Linked DNA regions of Homo sapiens: region 1 is linked to region 2. Evidence: promoter capture Hi-C in human tissues and cell types (Jung and others, 2019). All regions are on one chromosome and are shown on one strand. The core of a region is centred on a gene start or on the middle of the fragment in contact, and the rest is flanking DNA. Distances in the headings are between cores, read along the strand shown. Region 1 overlaps TM9SF2 (transmembrane 9 superfamily member 2). Region 2 holds the start of ITGBL1 (integrin subunit beta like 1).

The links. Contacts are between HindIII fragments. The study calls those that stand out against the background at their distance.
Region 1: a contact is called between a fragment that was not itself captured here and the fragment with the promoter of ITGBL1 in region 2, in 1 of the 25 tissues and cell types used here (dorsolateral prefrontal cortex).

Annotation. Positions count from the first base shown.
Region 1 is chr13:99,542,201-99,544,927 of GRCh38, reverse strand. TM9SF2 (transmembrane 9 superfamily member 2) reads right to left here. Exons shown (of 17, transcript NM_004800.3): 10 at 933-1,065. Among named protein-coding and RNA genes, the nearest start is that of LINC01039, 34 kb to the left of the region's middle. RefSeq lists an enhancer at 1,618-1,677 and a silencer at 2,028-2,097. The HindIII fragment of the contact is 3,817 bases long and covers 1-2,727 here.
Region 2 is chr13:101,451,412-101,454,111 of GRCh38, reverse strand. ITGBL1 (integrin subunit beta like 1) reads right to left here and starts at 1,437. Exons shown (of 11, transcript NM_004791.3): 1 at 1,181-1,437; 2 at 12-229. The coding sequence starts at 1,278. RefSeq lists an enhancer at 1,355-1,859. The HindIII fragment of the contact is 7,410 bases long and covers 1-2,700 here.

The DNA.
Region 1 (2,727 bases), core at 123-2,622, 1.9 Mb after region 2:
ACAATCCCTGTGGCTATCAATACCTCTAAGGAACATTTATTTAAAAAAAAAAATTGTCCTAGTTGGCAAAAATTTAAATACAATTTCTGAAGTCGCTGAGGTAGCTCAAAGAAGAGAATCTTTTTATGGAGGAAGGAAGGTCTTTCCTACACACTCGCTTTCCCTAGAGGAGAGAGATCCTGCTTCCCAAATCCTCCCCAGATGAGAAGGATCTACACAGTGCTTCCTGCCCCATCCCTTCTTTTCCCACCCTCCTCCCTCCGTGGAAGCCAAGAATATCCTGGAACCCTAACCAGACTGTGCCTGCCCACGATGCCTGGGTAAAAGAGACCCTAAATGGTCCCAGTTCTGGGCTGTTTAGACTCAGATGCTGATGGTCTTAAGGACCTGTTCATCTCCAGCCCAGTGCCTCCCTGACAAAGGCTTGGTCTAGGAAGAGCTGAAGGGAGAAACCAAGAGTCAGTCTTTGGGTGCAACTAAACCTGCCCCAAGTCACTTAGATTTTGAGAACCTAAAGGATGCTCAGAAATAATCTGGCTTACCTACCCACTTAGAAAAACTGTGGTGTTTTTTGTTTTTTTTTTTGAGATGGAGTCTTGCACTGTCACCCAGGCTGGAGTGCAGTGGCGCAATCTCAGTTCACTACAACCTCCGCCTCCCAGGTTCAAGCTACTGCCTCAGCCCCACAAGTAGCTGGGATTACAGGCACCTGCCACCATGCCCAGTTTTTGTATTTTTAGTAGAAAGACGGGGTTTCACTATATTGGCCAGTCTGGTCTCAAACTCCTGACCTTGTCATCCACCCGCCTTGGCCTCCCAAAGTGCTAGGATTACAGGCATGAGCCACCATGCCCGGCCAGAAAAACTGGTTTTTAAGCAATTACTGTATTTAGAAAGTATTTTCTACTTGAAAATTTTCAGTTAACACTTACATAGAGTCACAAAGGTCATAATTAAAATCTGTGTCCCGGATCCTAGAAAGACTGATAGCAGCATCCCTTTTCTTGGAGGACGGAATATATCACCATGAACAAGTTTCCAGCCAAATTCTTCCTGGGCATCTTCCTAAAAGGGGAATGAAATCAGTTCGATTGTCTCATGGTATCAACAAGACAACTATAGACAGTTTGTTCACTGTTGAATATGCTGTTACAGAAAACAGGTTTTTTTTAAACTTAAAAATGTTAGTACCTATTTCAATTTTGAAGAATACAGCTTGACTCATGGAGCTTAATATGGCTTTGCTGAACTGTCTTATATGTCAGTTTCTTAAATTTATGACATTAAGGTCTACAAATATACTTATTGAGAAACTTTACAAAGACAATGTGATTGCTACCTAATTCTACTCTAAGTCAAGCTTTGTGATCTGACTTGATGACGATTTTTAGTCACATTCTATCCTCTTCATCCTACTCTTAATGATCTCCACAATAAGCAAATGGCATTAGCTCTCATATTCTAGCTACTTTGCTAATACAGTAAGCATGGATGTAAACATTCATTGAGCACCAACTATAAGCTCGGCTCTGTTTAAAACACCAGATACCACAGTGAGTGTAACAGAAAAATTCCTACTCTCAGGAGTACATGATCTCATTGGGAAGGCAGACAATAAACAAAATAAGTCAGGAAAGTATACTGTACATTAGATGGTAATAAGCGCTGTACAGAAAAACAGGATGTATGGGTGTGTGCAGGACAGGATGTAACATATGTGATGGCTGGGAGGGGTTCAATGGGAAGATCACATTTTGTAAAGATCGGAGGGAGGTAAGGGAACTAGCCATGTAAATGAGGGGCAGACCTTCTTAGCAGATAAAACAGTGAGCTTCGTGAAGGCTCTGAGGTGGAAACCTATGTCTGCCTGGTCTGAGGAACAGCAAGGTAGCCGGCACAGGTGCAGCAGAGTGCTGAGGTAACGTGGGGCCTTAGAAGCCACTGTAAAGCCTCTGACTCTTGCTCTGACTGAACAGAAGTCCCTGGAGGGCCGTGCTCAAGAGTGAAATGATCTGACTTCTGTTTGAGCAGTTTCACTCTGACTGCTGTGCTAAGAGATGGGAAGTAGGACAGGGTTGTGGAAGCAGAGTCACCACTGGCCTGGTTCCACATGGCAACGCTGTGCAAATTAAGATAAAACTCCATTAACAGCAATTATGTGGAACAGCCAATTATAAACAGAGTATTTTAAAATCATTTTAATATTTAATAAGACATAAAATCAATAAAAATCATAGGAAAGAGACTATAGAGTACAAACGTTAAAAGCTTATGAATATTCATATATATTTTCCCCAATCAGAACAGGTCAGAGAGGTTGGGGGACAGGAGGCTGAAGAAGCTGGGGGAAGAGAATACAATAAAAACCTGAGTTTTTTGCATTCATTCCAAATTACTGTGATTCTTGTGAAAATTCTTTTATTATGCTGCCATGAAATGAAGAGTAGAAAATGTGTAACACTGTGCAACTTAAAAAGTTTGAGACTAAAGAGGCTGGAACATGCAATTATTTTAAATATATCAAAAGGTTGAAATGATACAAATTTGTTAAGATTAATTTTAAAAAATTAACCACACAAATAAAAATTGCTTAGGAGTTATTCCATTCAACTTTGTGGTTTCACAAACAGGTATGTGTCAGGGATGGAGAAACCTTACAGAGTTGTAACTGTGCACCTACACCCCACGCTGCACCAGTCCATTCCCACACAGGAGGCTGTGAACAGG
Region 2 (2,700 bases), core at 188-2,687:
CGCCCTCTTACCTGCACAGGTGCTCCCGTCGTAGGTCTCGCACACCCACTCATGGCACTCACACAGGGGCCCGAAGAACATGCCCGGCTCAGTCACGTGGCAGATGCAGACGCCGCAGTCGCAGCGGCCCCGGCCGTGGCACAGCGCGGCCCCCGGGGGCTGCCCAGGTGCGCGGCAGCGTCGCTCCGACTCGGCCCGGGACAGCCTGCAGGCGGCGCCCGGCCAGCTCCTGCGCGGGCGACAAGCAACCGGCAGGCCGGGTCAGACGCGGACGCCGCCCCCTGCTCCGAACCCACGTTTCCTCCCCAGTGTCCCCTCCAGGTGCAGACGTACAACCCCAAGAACAGGACGCCTGAGGCCCACATCTCTCTGGGGTCCAAGCGCTGCCTGGAAGGGCTGTATTTTCCCAAGCAAACAGGTATCACCCACCAGAGAAATGACCAGGGCCCAAAATGTGTAATGGGTGACCTGCCCCCGGACACAGGTCCTTCCTCCAGGTGGACAGAGGTGAACTGCCCTGCTCTTTGGTAGTTTATCACTAAATCTTATATGCACATTTAGATTAAATACAAAGTAATCCAAGGTACGGCACTCAGCTGACTTTTCAGTTCTCCTTTAAAAAACGTCCCACTGCTATCTGATGGCCAATGGGCACTTATATTACAGAAGAGAAAACGTGAATCTATAGAAAGAGTTAGACATGCTATGATAGCATCGGGCATAATTTGCATTAAGCAGTCTTTAGGAACTCTACTTTTAAAAAGTTTAGTTTCACTATTGCAGTGTGCCTCACTCAGTCTCTTTCAGGATGATACAAAATGTAACACAGACCTCCTGTTGCTGCCCTTGGGAAACAGATCATTCTGCTTTACATGTTGTGAGAAGATACTGGTACACATAGCATTTTAACTCACAGCAGGAATTCCTCCTGATATGTATTTGCAGAAAAGAAAATTATATTTTTATTCAATGATTGCATTTTTCCAAAGGAAAAGCAAAAGGACAGACATGAGGCAATACACGCTGTAGATATAAGGAGAGGAAAAGGAACAGGTTGAAAACAGTTTATCCCTTGTCCAATTTAATAACAGCTCTTGGCTTAGGGCAGCCATCCTGCAAGCTTGAGCCCTGCCACATAAGCAGGGCAGGTCTGTACTGAAGAATAACAAACCAAACTTACCTCAGAGATGGCGAGAAGCTTTGAGGAACAGCTGACAACCCAGCAAAGAGAAGGGAGGACGCCAGCAGCAAGAAGTTCCTGAAGCCTGGGGGACGCATGCTGAGCTCCTGGGCTGCTCCGGGCGAGCTGCACTTCTGCAAGGTGGGGTTCACCGAGGGAGGCGGCAGGAGGGAGAGGTGCCACCAGCAGATGGCTGGGCAGACGGACCCACGGACACCCAGGCTTGCAGGTCCGGGGCTCCAGCCGGAGTTGCAATTGCGTTGATGAGCTGCCTGCGAGGATTTGGGCAGCGGCACTGCTCTGGGCGGGGTGCTGGTGCCAAACCCCTCAGTGGAGAGTCTAGGCAGGGAAGTAATTAGAAACAGTTGTACAAGCAGATGGTTTATTTTGACATTAAAAAAAAAAAAAGTGTCCTGTTCACAGATTTCAAGTACGGGCCACAGAAATATTTGACAAGAGAATATTTGGACTGGCCGATATTAAAGAAACCTTTAAAATAATCCCTGAGTTGTGGAGAAGGGTGAGGCCAGTGACAGTAGTGGGAACACTTGGGTAGGGAATTACTTTCACCACACGCTTTTAAAGTAGATGCACTCTTTGGAGTTTGGGTTGGGGCCGGGGCAAGGAAATCTGACAAACACAACTTTTTCTTGCATTTATTATCCTTTGATTTAAACTGGATATTTCATTTCTTTAGTCTTTAAAAAGCGTGTCATGCTTCCAGCTGTTTAGGCCAGTAGCTTATCACACCACAATTTGTTGGTGACTTGGACAGTTTAAATTGTAGTTGTCTCAAATTCACCCCATTCTCCCCATATATCAAATGTGAGAAAAGAAAATTAAATGTTTATTTATAGCACAAATTGCACTGAAAAACAATTGGTGTCATTTACTAAGCACCTACTATGTGCCAGTCATTTAGTATGTTTTCTCTAATTATGACAATAATCACACATTTATTTATGCATTAGCAAATGGGGATTTAGCATCTATCAGGTGCCAGGTTTTGTGCAAGACAGAATGAATATAACAGAGAACTAAGGAGACATGATCCCTGCTCTCTCAGAGTCCAATGAGCTAGAAAGACATTAATCAACACAAAACCACAAAAAAAAAGAACAAAGGGTTGCAAGTGCAGTGAGAAGTTACTTCCAGATGAGATACAGGCACTTGATCTAATCAAAGATGGTAGCATCTGAACAAAAAACTGAAAAAAGTATTGAATTAAATTGGGTAGAAATAAGAAGGAGATGGAAGAGAACAGGGAGACATTCTTACTCCCATTTTAAAGATAAAGAAACTGAGGGCAAAGAGGTCAACTGACTTGCTCAAATTCACAGAGGAAGTTAGTCGTATTTCAGCTGAAATCCAAAGTGCATACACTATCCCCTACATTTATGGTCATCTGGGAAAATGTGTAGAGGGTTATATGGAAGGGGGAAAACATTTTTCATTCACCCTAAGAAGAGCACTGTACATGCAATCCTTCCTCATGAAATAGAACCATCCAAGAATCATCT